Linked DNA regions of Homo sapiens: regions 2, 3 and 4 are each linked to region 1. The links are contacts of gene promoters, found by promoter capture Hi-C in blood cells and fetal thymus (Javierre and others, 2016). All regions are on one chromosome and are shown on one strand. The core of a region is centred on a gene start or on the middle of the fragment in contact, and the rest is flanking DNA. Distances in the headings are between cores, read along the strand shown. Region 1 holds the start of POP4 (POP4 ribonuclease P/MRP subunit). Region 2 has its middle 63 kb from the start of UQCRFS1-DT. Region 3 has its middle 16 kb from the start of URI1. Region 4 has its middle 55 kb from the start of CCNE1.

Region 1 (5,277 bases), core at 1,233-3,732:
AATTAATGCATTTAATAATGCATTAATTAGCATACCTAATTACCTAATTAGCACATAGTTAATTTGCTTGATCCACTATGATCAAATATAGCATTGTTTTTAAGTTTTTGCTATTATAAACAAAAATCACAAACATCCTCACAGGTATCTCTCTGCATACAGAAACATTTTCTGAGAATAATCAAGTGGTTTGTTTGCTTTTTATTTTTTTTGTTTGTTTGCTTTTTAAAAAATATTTTAGGCTGGGCGCAGTGGCTCACCCCTGTAATCTCAGCACTTTGGGAGGCCGAGGCGGGTGGATCATGAGATCAGGAGTTCGAGACCAACCTGACCAACATGGTAAAACCCTGTCTCTACTAAAAATACAAAAATTAGCTGGGCGTGGTGGTGTGTGCCTGTAATCTCAGCTACTCAGGAGGCTGAGGCAGGAGAATCACTTCAACCTAGGAGGCAGAGGTTGCAGTGAGCCGAGATCACACCATTGCACTCCAGCCTGGACAACACAGCAAGACTCCGTCTCAAAAAAAAAAATATTTTAATGATGAAGGAACTATGTTGTAATTGCAACTCAAGGACGACCCACCCCACCACCATCAGGGAATTCGAGGGGAGACTGGCAGTTATCCAGGGATCCCAGAAGGAGTCAACTGGGAGTTAAGAGTCCTAACAACCCTAGAAAAAAACTTTCAAAGACACAGGTCTTCTCATTAATCTCCATAATCACAGAGGTCTTGCCTAAAAGGGCCCCCCTTGAGTACACAGCTCTGAAACTGGCTAACATCTTCTGCTGTCTCATTTGATTTTAAAGTTCACATTTGTGAAGGGCTCTATTGTACAACATGGTGACTATAGTTAATAACAGTGAATTTCAGTTAATAACCTGAATTTCACTGAGAGTAGGTCTGAAGTGTTCTCATCACAAAATGAGTGTATTAGCATCGCTCATAGCTCATTTAGCCATTACACAATGTATACACATTTCAAACCATATTGTATACCATAAATACATACAATTCTTATTGGTTAATTTTAAAAATAATAAAAGTTCTCTATCAGTCCCATAAATTACAATTTTCAGGCATCTGCAAAGGCAGCATGTTTTGGTTTAAATGTGGTCTTTCCAAATTTTATACGTATAAAATAAATGCATAAGTGTACTACATATGCAAAAACTAATACATAAATTTTATAAAGTCAATGCACGCGGGGTCACTGGGATGAACCAATTTCAGTGCCTGCAGTCTAATGTTTAAAATCAAAATGGTACAAGGTCACCACCAAAGAAATTGTTTAAGCCAATGTTTCTCAAACTAAAACCTTTGGACATACTCCCAGAATCCCCTGTAAAGAAATGTATACTGTACTCAAAGTTGAGAACCACTGACTTAGCATAAAGGGACCGTATTTCTTTTCTCTCCCACCCAGCACAGGCCCAGTGCTCAGCAGAAATTGGGGCTCCACAGTTCTGCCCAACACTGGGTCACTGCTGAGAAGTCTGCACCAGGCCTTCCTGCACCTTTCCACTGAGCAATGGAGTTTGTTTATTCATTTATTTATTTATATGGAATTTATTTATTTATTTTGGAGACAGGGTCTCACTCTGTCACCCAGGCTGGAGTGCAGTAGCGCAATCCAGGTTCACTGCAGCCCTAAACTCCTTGGGCTCAACTGATCCTCCCACCTCAGATACCCGAGTAGTTGGGACTACAAGCACGCACCACCACGCCTGGATAATTTTTTTTAAATGTTTTGTAGAGATGGGGTCTCCCGATGTTGCCCAGGCTGGTCTCGAACTCCTGGGCTCAAGAGATCCTCCCGCCTGCGCCTCCCACGGTGTGAGCCACCTTTGATCTTATTGCTATGATTTTTTTATTGATAAAAACTAATAAATATTCTGAGTCTCAAGAAAGCTTTCTGAAACTATCAAAGGGACCCAGGCGGCGCATCACTACCTGTGAGGCCGACCCCACTCACAGCACAGACTGCAAGTGAGGCTTACAGATGGGAAGTGCCCTAAGCGAGGTTAAACAGCTAGTTAGCAGCAGACACGGAACTAGAACCTAAGCCTGCTGTCCCAGCTTCGGTGCCCGTGCTCACAGCGGAAGCTGCCTCGGCTCATCCGTAAGGGCGCTGATTAGGGACGACAAAGACCTCACCCCACCGTCCCCGTCCCATTTCCGCCCTCCCAGATCCCCAACCTCCTTCGAGTCCTCTCCAAGTCGCCTCGCCTCGCTCCACTCCAGGCCTTAGCAAGCATTCCACATGCCTTTACCCCAACCCTACTGCCTGTCCCCCAAAAGATGCAGGCGGAAAAGACCCCAGGAAGCGAGCCCACTCCTCCCCACTGCTCAGCAACACCGCCTACGACGTTCTCAGTAGCCGAATCCCTTTCCAGGCGCATGCGCCCCCGAGGTGGGCGAGCGCCGGTGATGTCACGCATAGCGCCATCTCCGAGCTCCGAGAGTCTGCGACAGCAGCTGCCAGTGCGTCATCAGAGAGCGCCGGAAGCGGTCCGAGAATGAAGAGTAAGCGGGGCCGCGAAGTTGGAGAGGGTTGGGGACGTTAAGGGTCGGGGTCTTGGTACTGGTGGGTGAAATGGGTCCGGGCTACCTGTTGCTGCGGAGTCCTAACAGAACCGCTACAGGAATGGGCCCACCCTACCTAAGAAAAACTGAGGGCTGGAGCACGGGTTAGCCTGGCTCGACCTCTGAGCTAGGGAGGGATGTCAGGGCTGGAGGCAGGTTCTCCCGGAGGCTGCTCAGTGGTGTGCGATGCTAGAGGAGGGTTCCAGGCCTTGGCTCAACTTGGCCACTATCTCCCGGGGTGACCGCGGTCAAGATCCTGCTCCTTTCTGCGAGCTGGTTTCACACTCTTAACCTGATGCAAAGCGCCGAGAGCTGCTGGGGAATGATATCACTAACCCAAAGCTTTGGTCCTTAGGGGTAGAAGACATGTGCCAAGGAGGGGCGTGTAGACACCGTTAAGACTGGGCCTTCAATCAGAATTTTTATTTTTCATCTCTGCCACTTTCTACCTATATGATCAAGTAGATTGTCTCGGCATGTCTGAGCTTCAGTTTGCTCATGCACATAAGTGTAATGAGAAAAAATATGTGTACCTTGTAATGAGGTTTCTGGCAAGTAATGGATGTTCAGTAATTGTTAGATGTGTATTGTTGCAGAAAGACTTCCAAGTCTGTTACTAAGCACCTGTAACAGATGAAGCAAAGTTATCAGGCCCCGCAAGTTGCTCTCTACAGTTTATAATCCCCATCTTCCATTTGAGGGAGAACTAGATGCTATATATAAAACTTGCAACCACATTGGTTTGCTTGATCAAACAAACATACCTGGCTGGGTGTGGTGGGACACGCCTGTGGTCCCAGCACTTTGGGAGGCTGAGGCAGGGGGATCACTTGAGGCCAAGAGTTGAAGACCAACTTGGGCAACAACATAGCGAGACCCTGTCTCTACAAAAACTGGAAAAAAAAAAAAAGAATTAGCCAGGTGTGGTGGCACACACCTGTAGTCTCAGCTACTCAGGAGACTGAGGTGGGAGGATCACTTGAAACCAGGAGGTCGAAGTTGCAGTGAGCTATGATTGTGCCACTGCACTCCAGCCAGGGCAACAGAGCAAAACCCAGTATCAAAACAAACAAACAAACAACAAAAAAAAAAAACTTGTAACCACCTTGCATCAAACATTCTCAGGGAAGTACAAGAAAGCTGGAATTAAATTTACAGAGTATAGTGTAAATTACATTTTCTAGCTATTTAGCTCATAAACCAGGCCTTAGTAGTCCCATTCTTATTCCATTCACACCTGTACTCTGTCCCCAGTGCCATGGTTTTCTTCTTTCAAAAAATTAAGAAACAGAAGTGTGGAATTTATTTTAGAGGTTGAAACTTTATTGACCAATGTATATTTTGAGTTTAAAGGAAAAACTTGTATTTTATCAGTTCAGGACACCATCGATTATGTGACACATTATAATTTCATATTAAAATGTGAAGAATCTTTTTAAACATCTTACAGTTAACAAAACCTATTTCTAACCATCTACATCCTAGACAGCTATATCATATAACTTTTAATGAGTTACCTTGTTAGCAAGTGCTCAAGCTTCTAACTTGGGGTATTTTAAACCAATGCAACTCAAAATGTGATTCACTGACCTGCAGTAGTATCTGGGAATATGTTAAACACTCAGGATCTAGGGTAGGAGACCAATAATCTGCATTTTAATAAGATCCCAGAGATTTTTACACACGTTAAATTTTGAGAAGCATTCTTTTTAAACCATGTGCTTGGAACTTCTAGCATAGATGTGGCCAGAGGGTGGGATAAGAGGCATCCAAGAAAGCTTTGCTCTTAATACCAACCTCATCTTCTCCTATCTCTGAATAAGCAGTTGTTCTGCTATAAGTGTAGAAGTGTAGTTATTTTCTTTTCTTTTCTTTTCTTTTTTTTTTTTTTTTTTTTTTGAGACAGAGTCTCACTCTGTCACCCAGGCTGGAGTGCAATGGCACGATCTTGGCGCATTGCAGCCTCTGCCTCCCAGGTTCCAGCGATTCTCCTGCCTCAATCTCCCATGTAGCTGGGAATACAAGTGCAAGCCACCATCCCCGGCTAATTTTTGTATTTTTAGTAGAGACGGGGTTTCACCATGTTGGCCAGGCCGGTCTTGAACTCCTGACCTTGGGTCAGGATCCGCCCGCCTTGGCCTCCCAAAGTGCTAGGACTACAGGTATGAGCCACTGCGCCTAGTGGCGTAGTTATTTTCATAGTTAGAAAAGTCTTGGGTCTTACAGCCATACCCAACAAGAATTGATCATTTCTTTTTTTTAATCCCCCAGGTGTGATCTACCATGCATTGTCTCAGAAAGAGGCGAATGACTCCGATGTCCAGGTCAGTTCTTGGCAGGGAGTCCAGGAGCAACAGAGGTGATGGCAAAGATGGCTCAGTAGCTTCTGAGCCCCCAGCACTGATTGAGATGTCCTTTCCCACATCATACTCCTCATTTTTCTGGCAGACATCTAAGGCTGGATCAAAGTCTGTAGTTCTCATTACCTGTTCCCACGTGCCAGCCTCCTTTTCTGTTGTGCCAAAGTCAAGTTTGGTAAAATGAGGCTTTCCTTAACCTTTTATCATTTCCCACTGTGTTGGGGACACCAGGCTGTGCCCACGTGGTGGGCAGCATCATTCAACCTTGTCACTGTGCCCTCTGCACTTCTGCAGAAGGTGTGCAATCACATATCATAAGTGAAATTTACAGA
Region 2 (5,277 bases), core at 1,116-3,615, 330 kb before region 1:
ATTTGATCATCTTGTTTGTTCATGCAGTTTCTCAAGAAACGATTACCAGGTAGGGTTTGAGTGACTCACAATACAAGCAGTTCAGCATCTCCCTAACTCTTGTCCCTCTGTGAATATCTATGCTTCTTGTCTGGACGCTGCAGGTTCTGAGTTTCTCACTCCTGATTTTACTGGGGCCATGGTAGAGCGAGGCAAATGTTAACGTGCTCACATCACAGATGCAATCACTTGTCCAGGCTGTGAGTCGGTGCTGGGGCAGCTGCACTGCTGGCCTCTGGACTCTGACTCCAGTGTTCATTGCATTAGCCCTCTCTCAAGTCCATCTTTCTGTCTCTAGTCTTCAGAGCCTGGGACCTTTCATTGTGAAAGAGGAGAGGACAAGCTTTTCCCATGCGGGTGAGCAGCGAATCCAAGTTGCCTGTCTCCACTCTTCAAAGGCAGGAAATTGTTTCACCATGTTCCACAAAAGGAATATGGTCTGCAAATGGAAGAATCATTTGGGAAAGCAGCTTATGCAGGAGCCCCAGGAGGGTGGCTGCAGTTGATTCAATGGTCTCATGACGGTGTGATGTGTGATGCAGTAGCCTCCTGGCAAAGAAGTGCCCCCAAGCAGACCCGCTGTATCCTTGGACCCTGCAGCAGCCAAACTACAATACATAGCCACAGGCATTGGCTTTGCCCATCCAGTCCCCTCTATACAGCCCATTCATATGACCTGAGCACTAAATAAAGACCTCAGAATGGCAGAGATACAGCCAGGGAGCCGCTGCTTACTAAATTACTAAAATGTAATGCCTCACTGGGTTGGATGCCGGCATTGGCAGGGCTTTTGTTTGTTGGTTTGTCTATTTGTTTAGCAAAATTAGCAAGCAAAATTAAACCCTTGTCACCTTCTTCAGCCGGAATGTGAGCTGGAAGACCATTCTCCAGAGCAGAGCCTTCATTTGCAGGCTTTTCTATAACTGGGGAGCAGTGGAGGGACAGGAGGTGGAAGGGCACTGCTGTAACCACCACAGGGCATCTTACTCAGCCCCAGGAGTGAAAGTGGAAAGAAAAGCACAGGCAGAGAGACCTGCACACTTTCCCTGCTCCCTAGAGGACCCTGCCAATCCCGGGCTGTCTGGGTACTGCCTCCCAGGAGCTCTGTAGGAAACTGGAAAGGGAGTGGTTGGAAACACAGTCTCTGCAGTCGGAGCTGGAACAAGTCACTGAATCCCTCTGTGTCTCCACTTCCTTGTTTTATCTCAAGGATGATAATACTAGCATATATCTCCCAGGGTGGTTGTGAAGGTTCAATAAGGTGCATATGCAATATGCTTAGCACCAAAACTGGCTCGTAATTACATGCACAATAAATGCTAGCTTTCATTAATGCTGTCTGTCACGTGTGAGATAAAGCTACTGGTCCCAGGAGGCCTCTACTCCTGCTAGGATGCAGTTCCCTTGGGCAAATGGTACTCCCAGGGCTGGTGCGCAGCGCCTCTGAGCAGCTGACAGCCAAGATTAGATGAGTTAAGACTGTGTCTCCTACCTCCATTTGCAAAATCCTCTATAAAAAGGTAGAGTAGGTAAGGTGGAAGGAGAGAGTGAGTCACCCTTCCTGGAGCACAAGCCAGCGGCGCCCTGACCCCCACCTGTGCTGTGTCCCATCAAGCTCCCGTAAGAGGCCTGTGTACATCCTGCTGTCTTTCCCCAGCACAGCCTGCTTTGCACCTCCTCCAAGATCCTGCTATATGGAGGTGATTTGGGAGGAAGACAGGACCATGGGTTTCCCTGACCTGCCTATTTCTTTGTCCTAAATAGTGTTACCGAGCCCCAGGTCTTCAGGCATAAAGGGACCTCTCAGGCTGGGACAACACAGTGCATCTTAGAGGGAGCCACCATGAACTCTGGAACCTTGGTGCCACGTGACATCCAAGGACATTTGTGTAACTCAGCAGAGTAAATGAGGACAAGGAGGACTAAATTGCTATCTGAGATCGCCTTTCCCATCAGCAAGATGGTGGAACTGGGGTTCTCAGTGTCCAGTTTAAGTTGATTTAAAGAAACTTGAGAATTGTAATATGTATTGCATGCTGCAATCATGAACTATCGCTCATACCTGCTGCACATCTAGCCCCCCTCCCTTCCTCCGCTGCCACTTTTGGTCCAGCATGAAAAGACCTCCTAGCTGGTCTCCCCACATCCTCTTGTTCTCCTTCTGCCTACTCTGCACATGGCAGCCACAATGACATTTGTAAAATGGATATCTGGTCATGCTTCTCCTTTGCTAAGACCCTAGGAGGACCACCACTGCTGCTCAGCAACCCACCCCCCACTGGCTCTCAGCCACCCACTCCACCCCATCCTCTTTGGCGCCAGGCTCCAGCTGTCTCCATCATTGCCAGCTTTCACTGAGCTCTCACAGTAGGCCTGAAGCTCTTCCACTTATTGTATGACCTCATTTAGTCTCAACTCCTTGGGAGATATCTTCACAGAGGCACAGTGAAGTTAAATTATTTGGCTAGGATTGCCAAGCCAGGGCCCCAAACCTAGTCCCAGCCCATCTCTTCTATCTTAATAAATATCATCAGCTGCCCAGCATGTCATGCCAGATGCCCAGGAGCCACCTTCCATCCTCTTCCTCCATCACCCCCTATATTTACTGCAGCAGCAAGGCCTGTGGATTTTCATTCACCTGCCTCCCGTGCACACATTTGTCCCTTCCACTGCCGTCTCGCTGGTCCAGTCACCACCATCCCTCACTGGAACAACTCCAGCAGCCTCCTCGCTGGATGGCCTGCTCTAATCATGCCCTCTGTTTGTTTCTCTTCCTCTCTCCTTTCCTCCCTCCTTTCCTTCTTTGCTCTCTTCCTCTCTCCTTCCATCCTTTCTCCTTTTTCTTTCCTTTTTTTTTTTTTTTTGACAGAGTCTCACCCAGGCTGGAGTGCAGTGGCATGATCTTGGCTCACTGCAACCTCTGCCTCCTGGCCTCAAGCGATTCTCCTGCCTCAGCCTCCTGAGTAGCTGAGATTACAGGCATGAGTCACCATGCCCGGCTAATTTTTGTATTTTTAGTAGAGACGGGGTTTCACCATGTTGGCCACACTGGTCTCAAATTCCTGACCTCAAATGATCCACCCACCTCTCTTTCCTTTTATTTTATTTTATATTTTATTTTGCTTTCCTTTTATTTTGAAATGTAGGTTTTCTTTCTATTGAGGTATGATGGATTGAGCAGAGCAGGAGACACTTGCTATTAAAGAGAGAGCTTGTTACGCACAGTTCCCAAGAGGAGGAGACACCATGCCATGAGGGGGCCACAGGGGGAAGAGGGAGGGAGGGGAAAGGGTGGACAAGAGCCTTTATGTGATTTCCATGGGAAGAAACAGACGAGGCAAACATGTAGGCTTAGGATCCACTAGTTTGTCCAATTTCAGCAGCCCCAGCATGCAGAGGCTGTCACTAGTTGTCTGATACCTGGCCCCGGGGTGATTAGGGCAAGGCCTGGCGTGATTGGTGGCTAAAAGTGAAAGAACCTACGAGAGCCCAGGAAAGGAAGTGGTCGGGGTGTGGGCTCTGGATTGATTGGTTTGTCGACCAAAGGGGAACTCGCAGGGGAGTTGCTTATTTTCTCTAGGAACTGCCTGTCCCTGGGAGGGGCAGTCCCTCCAGGGTGAAGTCCCCAGCATCTCAAAACATCAGAAATACAGAAAATAAAAAGGCATGGTTAGTATTCTTTCCTTCCTTCTTTCCTTCCTTCCTTCCTTTCTTCCTTCCTTCGGAGAATCTCTAAAGGAAATAGCATACCCTAAATACAGTTGAAACCCCCTTCCCCTACAAAAATCATACATATGATTACATATGCATAATCTCTAAGTTAGATATGATATCTATGCATTTCTATAAATTTTCTAAAGGTATTTTGTCTCTTTGCCTTATGTGCCCCCTTCCCCTACAGCACTTCTCTCATTCTCCATCAAATGCCTGAATGTTTCTAAACTTTGCATGAATTATATCTTGAGTATATGATGTGTGTGTGTTTGTGCATGTGTATGAAGAGAAAGTTTCCAAGATACATTCAAGAAGAGTAACAAAAGGCAAAAATAGACAGAATTCGATGTGAAAGTGCCTCCTAAAGAAACAAGCAGCATGAACAAGAATAAACCTATCCCCTACACCTCACAGTCAACCGCAGGGCGCCACGGACAGGGAGAAACACAGGAAAGGCCATCGGAAGGGAAACGACCAACCACCAAGGGGTGCCCATTGACTGGGTGGAGAACAGACTTCCCAACCATAAGCGGCGCAATAATATCTTCAGAGGCCAAAATAAAATGAAAAGCCAACTTGGAACTCTATGGCCAATTAAGCTTTTCGGACATAAAAAGTTTACTACCCACATATCCTTGCTCTAAAAAAAGAAAAATCTGTGACAAGAAACAACTCAAAATACACACATACATGAACCAAAGGGAAGGAGGGGAAAGGAAAGACAACAATTGATAGACTATGTTTTATTTATCATGGACAGTTTCAGAAAAAAATCTATTTTCCCTAAATTACGGAGGATGGAACTAAAACAGAGAAAAAAGGAAGGGTGTTCCCTGAAGGGTTAAAGCATATTAGGGTCTTACCTTAAGACCCTAAGAAAAGGAAACAAACACACGAAATACCTTTAACAAATTTATAGAACTGCATATATTATACCTAATTTGGAGATTATACATTTATAATCATATATACGATTAAAAATCTAGGAGTACAAACACGCTTTGTCGTTGCTCTTACAAAACCTGAGATCACAGCAAACATTGTTCTTCAACTTAACTTTTTCCCTTGGTACATGTTGTCATCTCTCCAGCTCCGTGTTCTGGCGCTTACACACCAGTCCTTTGTTGAAGAACAGGTGATTCTGTTCCAATTTGCACTACTGCAAACCATGTTTTAGAGAAAGTCCTTGTATGCATAGTTTACACATTTTAGAGACCCAGATTAGAACCACGTTCACAGCAAGGTTTGCTCAAGGAACAACGAATAGCTGATAAGCATATCTGCATAAAACTCAAGAGGTTCTACATAAGATTCAGACTGCCACCTGCCCTGGGAAAGCTGCAATGTGCTCAGTAGCACCTCAGCCCTGGCATTCCCCAAGCACCACCAGCAGCGGGCTGACAAGAGCTGTCTTGGAGCAGGACCTGCACACTCTGGTCTGCCTCAAGCTATTTCTTCACTGATTTCTCACTGGCCAGACCCAGCAGGCTTCTAAGTGTGTCAATGCCTTGAGGTTGATTACAT
Region 3 (5,277 bases), core at 1,355-3,854, 320 kb after region 1:
CACCCACAAACGACATGGCTCCCACAATCTACTTCCCAGATCATAGTCCTGCCTAGCTGGGACTGGAGGTAGGATACAAGTTAGAGGTGTATTCCAGCCCCAGGGTGCTGGGTGAGGCCTGGGGATGTGTCCCTGCCCACAAGATAGAACTGGAATCTTCACGTCCACCAGATTCTGGGCCTCTCTCCTATGTCACAGATGGGAATTCTTTCCACATTATTCCCAGTGGGTCTTCTCACTCTTTTCCAGGCTCCTTGGAGGTCACTGCCCTGATGACAACATGGTCTTCCCTTCAAGGAAGCCACGTTTCTAAGAGGGCTCTGGCATATGCATTGGTGAGTTGAAGCTTGACAGTGTTATAGCTTCTCTGCTGTTAGTGTGAGGTTTGAGGATTTTACTTTAACCACATGGATTAGTCAGAGAAACAGAATGAACAAGATACAGATGGCGCTGTAGACATAGCTATAGACCTGGAAGAGGGGCTTTATAATGGAGATTGGCCTGAGTGATTAGGAGCCTAAGAAGTCCCACAGTATGTCATCTGCAGGTTGAAGAGCCACGGAAGCTGATGGTATCATTCAGTTTGAGCCTGAAGTTCTGAGAACCAGGAGCTTCAACGTCCCAGGGCAGGAGAAGGTGGATGTCCCAGGTCCAGAAGAGAGTGAATTTGCTTTTCCTCTGTCTTTTTGTTCTATTTGGGCCCTCAGTGGATTGAATGTTGCCCACCTACATTGGTGAGGGCAGATGTTTTTTACTCGGTCTACTGATTCGAGTACCAATCTCTTTGAAAACACCCTCCCAGATGCACCCAGAAATAATGTTGCACCTGCTATCTGGGTATCCCTTAACCCAGTCAAGCTGACAGCTAAAAGTAACCATCACACCACACTTTCACAAACACCTGGGTGCTTGCGGACTCACCTTTTACAATGGTTTTACCAGCCTCCTCCACAAGCACAGGCAAAGTCAGTTTCAAGGACAGGAGCCCCCCATTGTTGCTCGGTGTACTGGCGATCTAAACAAACACGTGCATTATAGGGGGTTTCTGTCATTTTTTAGCCACCTCGCTTTCATCCCTGGTCCTCATGACCCCTTGATTTCTTTCTGAGGAATTCCCTCCCTCCCACTGTGAGAACAGAGGGGCCAGGCCCTCCGTCTGTCTCCCAGCTCTAGGAGAGCCAGGGGTTGAGCCCCAGGCCAGAGCTCAGCCAATCAGAGGCTGTCCTGTGAGCAAGTGATACCGGGACTGATGGGATGGCTGGAGTGTGTGTTGCACAGATGCAACAGCAGCACACTGACCAGACCATGCCCCTGTGAGAGCCGGGGTGGGGCTCCACTGCTCCCTAGGGCTCCCAGGAGCTCTGCCTGCCCTCAGCTTCCTGTCCAGGCTCTCTGAACCCCCTCTTATTATTTTGTTTAATTTTTAATTTTTTTTAGATGAAGTCTCCCTTTGTTGCCCAAGCTGGAGTGCAACAGTGTGATCTCGGTTCACTGCAACCTCCGCCTCCTGGATTCAAGTGGTTCTCCTGCCTCAGCCTCCCAGGTAGCTGGGATCACAGGCATGCACCACCACGCCCGGCTAATTTTTGTATTTTTGGTAGAGACGGGGTTTCACCATGTTGGCCAGGCTGGTCTCGAACTACTGACCTTAGGTGATCCCCCTGCCTTGGCCTCCCAAAGTGCTGGGATTACAGGCGTGAGCCACCACACCTTGCTGCACCCTCTCTTGTTGATCCTTCTTGCTTGGTTAGGCAGAGACAGCCTCCAATTCTTGCAGCTACAAGGCCCGCACATGAAGGACAAAATGTTTTGGTTAATAATGTCTTCATGTGTGTAAGTCCTGTTTTTGTTTTCCAGTTGAATTGAGAGTTCCTTTTGGGCAGGAACTCTTTTTTCCCTTTGTCCTGGGTCCGGTACTTGGCATGCAGTAGATTCTAGGGCAGAGCTGGAGGCAGGGGGAGGCTGCCTAGAGCCAGAGGGCTTGTGTGTGAGGTCCGCCCCTGCACTCACTCACTGGGGGACCTTGGCTGAGTCCCGCGGCATTTTCAGTCTAGACATTGCATCAATTAAACAGGTGTGATGCTTATAATGATCACCCTCCTTCTTGGCCTCAGGGCCTCTGTGAGGTTTTAATGAATGAAGGCTGAAGAAACTCCACAGAGATGGTGACTTTCCCCCAGCACAGCTCTTGCCCTCAAGGAAGAGACACTCGACCAAACAGGCAACTGGAAACAGGATGGCTTCGTGGGCGTGTGTGACTTACACAGGGCTGTGCACTCAGAAGAATCCCGTGACTGACTTAGGCTCTGCAGCTGCCATCTTGAAATTCTTAATAACTTTTGAATGGTGTTGGGGGTGGGGTTGGAGGGGATGGTCCACACTTTCATTTTGCACTGGGCACTACAAATTATGTGACCGGCTCTGATTAAAATGCTACAAGAACTAACATGAAACTGGACACAGAAACCAGACCCCAGAGCACATACCGTATGAGTCCATTGGTATGAAGTTTAAAAACAGATGGCACTAGTCCAAAGGATTGGAAGTTGGAATAGTGGTTACCAGGACTGGGGGGAGGAAGGGATGGTGGATGGTGAACAAAAGGACCTTGGAGGGCTCCTGGGGTTCTAGGAATCAATCTTCCTTCTTTCCTTCCTTCCTTCCTTCCTCTTTCTCTCTTTCTTTCTGTTTTTATTTCAATAGGTTTTTAAGGAACAGGTGGTGTTGGTTACATGAATAAGTTCTTTAGCAGTGATTTCTGATATTTTGGTGCACCCATTACCCGAATAAAAATCTTCTCTCTTTCTTCCTCTCTCCTTCCTTCCTTCCTTCCTTCCTTCCTTCCTTCCTTCCTTCCTTCCTTCCTACCTTCTTTCCTTCAACAGAATCTTATTCTGTTGCCCAGGCTGGAGTGCAGTGGTACAATTATAGCTTTTTGCAGCCTCAACCTCCTGGGCTCAAGTGATCTTCCTGCCCCAGCCTCCTGAGTAGCCAGGACTACAGGAATGTGCCAACATGCCTGGCTAATTTTAAAAAATTTTTTATAGAGAAGAGGTCTCACTATGTTGCCCAGACTAGACTTGAACTCCTTCCCTCAAGTGATCTTTCTGCATCAGTCTTCCAAAGTGCTGGGATTGCAGGCATGAGCCACCTCACCCAGCCTTAGAAATGTTCTGTTTCTTGACCTGAGAGCTGGATATACAGGATTGCTCACTTTGTGAAAATTCGCTAAGGATTTGTGCACTTTTCTGCATATGTGTTAAACTGCAGTACAAGGTTAAAAGAAAATGTGTGAAACGACCTATACATTGCAAAGGAAAGGCCAGGGTGTTGAGCTTGACCCACCTTGGGGATGCTCAGAGAAGGCTTCCCTGGAGAGGGGTCTGGGTCAGGTCCTGAAGGAGGAGCAAGGGATGGGGGTTGGGAAGTTTTGTGGCTCCCTACCAAGGGATGACGTGCCTGTCTGGCAGGAGCTAGGCTCATGCATGGCTCGGGAGAGCACCTGCTTGTACTGAGTCTGGCTCTGCCTGGGAGCTTGAGGATGCGAATGAATTGGAGACACAAAGACCAGCTTGTGGGGGCCGTGGACTCCACTCTCTGGGCTCGAGACTCCAGCTGCAGTGTGGAGGACAGCCTGGGGTGGGAGATGGGAGGCAGGGAGACCCTGCAGAGGCTACTGGACTTCCCAGGTGAGCAGTGATGGTGTCTTGGGCTGGGGGAGTGTAGACAGGAGAATGGATTCTGGAGACTTTATTCCAGTGGTAGCTGTGGTGGTCTTCACATAGGATCACAAATTCCTTGGCATTTGTCCCATCAAGAGATGAAGTCTAATTTCATCCCTCTTTTTTTTTTTTTTTTTTCTGAAATGGAGTCTTGCTGTCTTGCTCAGGCTGGAGTGCAGTGGTGCAATCTCGGCTCACTGCAACCTCTGCCTCCCAGGTTCAAGTGATTCTTCTCCCTCAGCCTCCTGAGTAGCTGGGATTACAGGCACATGCCACCACACCCGGCTAATCTTTTATTTTAGTAGACACGGGGTTTCACCATATTGGCCAGGCTGGTTTTGAACTCCTGACCTCAGGTGATCCACCTGTCTCGGCCTCCCAAAGTACTGGGATTACAAGCATGAGCCACTGCACCCGGCTTTTTTTTTTTTTTTTTTTTTTTTTTGAGACAGAGTCTCACTCTGTCGCCCAGGCTAGAGTGCTGGAGTGCAATGGCGTGATCTCAGCTCACTGCAACCTCCACCTCCTGGGTTCAACCAATTCTCATGCCTCAGCCTCCCCAGTAGCTGGGATTACAGACGCCTGCCATCATGCCCAGCTAATTTTTGTATTTTTAGTAGAGATGGGGTTTTGTTATGTTGGTCAGGCTGGTCTCAAACTCCTGACCTCAAGTGATCTGCCCACCTCGGCCTCCCAAAATGCTGGGATTAGGCGTGACCTACGGTGCCCGGCCTAATTCCATCCCTCTTGAATGTGAGCTGGCCTTAGTGACTTGCTTCTGATGAGTAGAATGTGGCTGAAGGGATACTACACGACACTCCAGGCTAGATTAGAAAAGGCCATGCCACTTCTGTCTGGCTCCCTTGGAACTCAACAGGCGTGCTGCAAAGAAGCCCAGGCTATAAGGCAAGGCCACATACAGGTGATCTGGTTGACTGCCCTACTGAGATCCCAGGTGACAGTTAATCTCAAGTCCAGATATGTGCAAGCAGAAGTTTTCAAGATGACCGCAGCTGCATGAGCCTCTGAATGAGAGCTGCCCGGCTGCCTGGCTGGGAGCGGTGATTTTTGCCACTGAGTTTGGCTGGTTTGCTAGCAGCAAGAAAACAGCAGCCTAGGCTGTTTCGAGGAATCACTAGAGAAGCTTAAAAACTTCCCACCGCCCAGGTCACGCCCAAGCATTATTTTTCGGAGCTCCCAACATGCATCCAAGGCTGAGAAGGAGTGCAGGAGGCCAACCCTGAGGCCCCTGAGCCTCAGTGGAGACAGCAGTCTGGGCCGATGTCACGAAACGCCCCTTTCCTTTCCACCACCTCCCTTCACTCAGCTCTCTTTTGTCTCCGCCCACTTGTTTCCATCTTCAGTTCCTGGTAGATGAAAGGGATCCATTTAAGTGGCAGGGACTTTGAAATCAGTGTGTCAGTCCCTGATGCTTGTTTATTTTCAAAGCAACATAGGAGAATGGATGTGGAGGGGAAGCGGGGAGGCTCTCAAGGGCAGTAGTGGGAATAGGATTGCCAGATAAAATACAAGAGGCTGTATTAAATTTGAATTT
Region 4 (5,277 bases), core at 1,554-4,053, 260 kb after region 1:
GAAAAGAAGAAGGAGGAGAAGGAGAAGGAGAAGAAGAAGGAGAAGATGATGAGGAGGAGGAAGAAAACAAAAAACAATACAAAACAAAACAAAACCTGTTCCAAACAGCAGGCACTGCTGAGGAAGGAAAAGAACTTTCACAAAAAAGTAAGACAGAGATGAACTGGTAGTTGCATGGTCGGGGAGGACTATCAGGAACCAAAAGAATCAAACGACTTCTCTGTTTAAAAATTCAACTGATAAACCCAGGAAGGGAATGATCACTGCTGAGAAATAAGTTGATACCATGAGAGTTCAGGTGGAAGGAAATCTCACCGCAATGCAAAACCAGAAAAAGATTTGGAGGACAAACCCTGATGATCTAACATTCAAAAAAGCAAAAGAGAAGGAAAAAAAAGATATAAAGGGAAAACGATAATCAAATAATTAATCAAAGAGCATTTTCTTCCTTTCTTTTTTTTTTTCAGAGATGGGGTCTTGCTATGTTGTTCAGGCTTGAGTTCCATGACTATTAACATGTGTGATTGTAGCATACTACAGCGTTGAAACTCCTGGGCTCAAGCAATCCTCCTGCCTCAGCTTCCCGAGTAGCTGGGTCCGTAAGCACACACCACTGTACCCAGCTCCTAATTAAAGAACATTTTCTAAGCTGGCGAAAGCCTTGATTAAAAGGGCCGATAGAGTTCCAGGAAGGATTAATTGAAAAGACATATACTTAAAACAGACCCTGGTGTAATTCCTGAATTATGAACTTCCAGACAGAAAGTAAGGTTACTTACAAAGGAAAGAAAAATCACGTTGATGTTGGCTTTGTCATCTGCCACCCTGGAAGTCAGGAGACGAATGGAACAGTGACTTCAGGGACAAGGACAGTGACCCAGGAATCCTATGTCCACAAGAGATATCATGCATACATCAGGGCAATGGCAAGAGATTTTTCTTTTTATTTTTATTTGTTTTGAGACAGGGTCTCACTCTGTCACTCAGGCTGGAGTGCCTGGTGTGATCACGGCTCACTGCAGCCTAGACTGGCTGGGCTTGAGCAATCCTCCCACCTTAGCCTCCCAAGTAGCTGGGAACACAGGTATGTGCCACTGTGCCCCACTCATTATTTTAATTTTTTTTTTTTTTTTGTAAAGACGGGTCTCACTGTGTTGCCAAAGCTGGAAGAGATTTTAAAGTATGCAAAGACTTATATCCTCTCTGGGGAAAATGCTAAATAAATACTACAGCCAAAAACAGATACACTGGGCCAGGCACGGTGGCTCACATCTGTAATCCCAGCACTTTGGGAAGCTGAGGCAGGCGGATCACTTGAGGTCAGGAGTTTGAGACCAGCCTGGCTGACATGGTGAAATCCCATCTCTACTAAAAATACAAAAATTGGCCTAGTGGCAGGTGCCTTTAATCCCAGCTACTTGGGAGGCTGAGACAGGAGAATCGCTTGAACCCTGGAGGTGGAGATTGCAATGAGCCGAGATCTCGCCATTACACTCCAGCCTGGGCAATATATCCAGACTCCATCTCAAAAAAAAAAAAAAAATAAGTCCACAAACCCTTTGATGATCGTCCCTTCAAGATGTGGATCATGGACCTTAATTTCCCTCCCTGGTAGTGTGGGACAGACCTAGTGACCCACTTCTAACCAAGAGAATCTAAGAGAGTGACAGGATGTGACTGAGGTTAAAGCATAAACGGTACGAGGAGTTCCTCTGTCTCTCATCACTTGATGTGAGGGAAGCTGTGTTGTGAACAGCCCCATAGATGCCCTTGGGACAAGGAACAGAAGTCTCCTGCCAACAGCCACATGAATGAGCTTCAAAGAGGATCCTGCAGCCTCAGCCCAGCCTCAGAGGGCTGCAGCCTTGGCCGACACCCGGTTACAGCCTCCTGAGAAACCTTGAGCTGGGACCATTTAGCAGAGCTGCTCCTGGACCTGACCCGTAGAAACTGTCAGATAACAAACATCTCTTGTTGTAAACTGCTAAGTTTTGGGGTAATTTGTTACCCTGCCATAGATAAATAATACAATCTGTAAAGAAACACAAATTTCTATGTTAACAGTGGAGAGGTACCCATTAAAGGAAATGAAAAGTATTGTGGAATTTCTGAATTAATACGGGTAAAGAATGATGAAAAACCTGAGCCAACCATCAAAGAAAAGTAAATGGGAAAGGGAAAATAACAATAATTTAGTAAGCATAAACCAGAAAAATGTAATAAAATCAGTAAACACACAATAAGATGGAAGAGGTTAAACCCATTATATATCATCTATCATTATAAATTATGAATTTTCCTATCAAATTGGAAAAAAAGAAAATTCAAGTAGATGCTGTTTATATGAGGCACATTTAAAATAAAGACACAATGAAAAGTTGAAAATTAATTGTTGAGCAAGGAGTTAATGGAAAAATGCAGACAAAAAAAGAAGCATAGTGGCAGTATGAAGATGAATCAACATGGAATCCAAGGGGCGAGGTCCTGAGCAGAGAAGGAGATTATGAAACATGGAAGTGCAATTCACAGAGAAACTAAAGTCTTCAGAAACATGTATGTACCAAATAATGTGGTAGCCAAACACATAAAGCAAAACTCCCAGGAATACACAGAGAACATGGTAAAAATATAATTATAATAGAAGGTATTTTAATACAAAGGACTAATTATCTGAGTATCTATTATTCAAGTCCCTGTAATTATAAGACTGCTTTGAAAAACAAAAGTATTCCTGGTACAATTACAGCAGCAACAATAATGATAATAAGAAATAACAAACGTTAAGCTCCTATGATGCGCCAGCCAAGGTTCTAAGTACTTTACATGTACTAACCCTTTTGGTCCTTACCACAAATTATATGTCATGATTTATTACTATCTGTTAGCCAAGATGACTATAATAATTTCTTCCATCCTTGTATATACAAACTTTTGCAATGTGACTTTATCAATTCCTCTTTTAAGAGGCAGAATGTATTTTTTTTTTTTTTTGAGATGGTGTCTCACTCTATTGCCCAGGCTGGAGTGCAGTGATGTGATCTCAGCTCACTGCAACCTCTGCCTCCCAGGTTGGAGTGATTCTCCTGCCTTAGCCTCCCAAGTAGCTGTGACTACAGGTGCACACCACACCACCATGCCCGGCTAATTTTTTTTGTATTTTTAGTAGAGATGGGTTTTTGCCGAGTTGGCCAGGCTGGTCTCCAACTCCTGATCTCAGGTGATCCATCCACCTCAGCCTCCCTAAGTGCTGTGGCGTGAGCCACTGTACCCGGCCTATTTTTATTTCTTTTTTTGAGATGGGGTCTCATTCTGTCACCCAGGTTGAAGTGCAGTGGCTCAGTCTCGGCTCACTGCAACTTCCTCCTCCCAGGCTCAAGTGGTCCTCCCACCTCAGCCTCTCAGTAGTGGGGACTACAGGTGCGAACCACCAAGCCTACCTAATTTTTCATATTTTTGTAAGAGACAGGGTTTCGCCATGTTACCCAAGCTGGTCTCAAACTCCTGAACTCAGGCAATCCAGCCCCCTCAGCCTCCCAAAGAGAATCTATTTTTATATCCATGAATCTGGTCTGGCTTTGCAACTTGCTTTGACAATGGGATGTTGTGGAAATTACTTTTTTTTTACTTGTGAGTTAGCCCTCAAGACACTGCACAGCTTCCACTCTTGGTCTCTTGGAACACTTCCACCATCGTGTGAAGAAGCCTGGGCTGGGCTGCTGAAGACCTGTAGCCAAACACCCATCATCAGACATGTGGGTGAGGCATCTTAGAACATCTGGTCCCAGCTGAGTTGCTGGATAACTATAGCTGCATTAGTAACCAAGGACAAGATCAGCAGAAGAGCCATCCAGCTGAGCCCACACCAAACTGCCACACACAGAATTGTGAGAAAACAAAATGGTTTTTGTTTAAAATTTTTGAACTGGTTTCTTTTGCAGAACTAGACAACTGAGAAACCATTCCCATTTTGCAAATGAGGAAATAGAAGCACAGGAAGGTTGAGTAATTTGCCCAAATTTTCACAGCTATGATTATGATTCTTAGTTAAGTCGTGACTTGAATCCAGTTACTAATGAATTGAGCTTTTATAAAATTATTATTCACTCAACCATTCCTCCCAGTTCACTGTTAGCATTTATCCTGGACAAATGCATCAGCATTTTTGATGGTCAGCCTCTCAATAATCGTAGAAATACCCCATAGTACAATATAATTCAAGTCAATTACAAAGTGAAACTACACATTTTGAAAAAAAAAAAAAAAAGGATTTTATGAAAGAGCAATATTGGGTGAGGTGCTGGTGGCTCATACCTGTAATCCCAACACTTTGAAAGGCCAAGGTGGGAGGATTGCTTGAGGCCACGAGTTCAAGACCAGCGTGGGCAACATAGTGAGAGCTTGTCTCAGTACATAAATAAAAATAAATGGTTTGATTATTGTGACAGAAGTTGTCAACTGTTACCCAATATTCATTCTGTTTTCACTGACATGAACCCAGTTTTGCCTAGGGTGGTAATGTACTCAGCTAAAAATCCTCTCCTCCCAGACTCTTCTGCAGCTAGGGGTAGTCGTGTGATGGTGTTTCGGCCAACGTAACATGAAAAATTCTACTTGTGGGGCTTCTGTGAAAGTTATTGCTTTCCCGATAAATAAGGGGCAGACTAAGGTGGCTCAAACCTTTTTGCCTTGAGTCATGCCCCCTTTGAACTGGAATGTGGATGAGATTCCTAGAGGTGCAGCTGCTACCTTGAGAAAGCAAATAGGAAACCTTCAGGAGGGTGAAGCGGGGGCCAGAAGGGCCACATCTGTGATGTTTTTCGTGTGCAATGGCACCAGCCCATCTGTTTGCCTTTGGATTTTTTTTGTCATATAAGAAAAATAAGCTCCTAGCTTGTTAAAGTTGCTAAATTGGGTTTCTGTCAAATGCAACCCTGACTGATACAAATAGCAAAGGATTAAGAGAGGCCCTTAGGACGATAGCTGAAGCCATCAATTACCTTTTGCAAAACACAGTAGTATTGCAGAAGTCAGATGTGAAGTGAAGGGTGTCTTGTCATGATATCACACAATTTTATTAGAAAAATTATACTTTCAAAAAGTCAACATTAGATTTATTATTTCTAAGCAAACTTTTTATTCAAGTATAACATACCTATGGGAAAGTACACTGGATTTATATTTGTCTTAAAAATGACATTGTTGCAATTATAACCTAAATTTCAGTAAATATTAGATAAAGTAAATGTCTTTTTTGTACTACTTGGTTTCATGTCTCGG

What was found. Contacts are between HindIII fragments. The CHiCAGO score rates a contact against its expected background, and 5 or more counts as called.
Region 2: a contact is called between a fragment that was not itself captured here and the fragment with the promoter of POP4 in region 1, in 2 of 17 cell types (total CD8 T cells and naive CD8 T cells). The highest score is 7.7, in total CD8 T cells.
Region 3: a fragment that was not itself captured here is called in contact with the fragment with the promoter of POP4 in region 1 in 5 of 17 cell types (non-activated CD4 T cells, naive CD4 T cells, naive B cells and 2 more); the score reaches 6.3 in non-activated CD4 T cells.
Region 4: a fragment that was not itself captured here is called in contact with the fragment with the promoter of POP4 in region 1 in 9 of 17 cell types (naive CD4 T cells, naive CD8 T cells, non-activated CD4 T cells and 6 more); the score reaches 15.7 in naive CD4 T cells.

What each region holds. Positions count from the first base shown.
Region 1 is chr19:29,603,801-29,609,077 of GRCh38, forward strand. It overlaps POP4 (POP4 ribonuclease P/MRP subunit), which reads left to right and starts at 2,483. Exons shown (of 7, transcript NM_006627.3): 1 at 2,483-2,525; 2 at 4,857-4,909. The coding sequence starts at 2,519. RefSeq lists an enhancer at 2,136-2,625. The HindIII fragment of the contact is 1,017 bases long and covers 1,909-2,925 here.
Region 2 is chr19:29,273,783-29,279,059 of GRCh38, forward strand. No RefSeq gene overlaps it. Among named protein-coding and RNA genes, the nearest start is that of UQCRFS1-DT, 63 kb to the left of the region's middle. RefSeq lists an enhancer at 3,644-3,693. The HindIII fragment of the contact is 3,970 bases long and covers 381-4,350 here.
Region 3 is chr19:29,923,420-29,928,696 of GRCh38, forward strand. It overlaps a transcript of URI1 not described here. Among named protein-coding and RNA genes, the nearest start is that of URI1, 16 kb to the right of the region's middle. RefSeq lists enhancers at 4,397-4,898, 4,899-5,277. The HindIII fragment of the contact is 4,520 bases long and covers 345-4,864 here.
Region 4 is chr19:29,864,361-29,869,637 of GRCh38, forward strand. No RefSeq gene overlaps it. Among named protein-coding and RNA genes, the nearest start is that of CCNE1, 55 kb to the left of the region's middle. The HindIII fragment of the contact is 9,260 bases long and covers 1-5,277 here.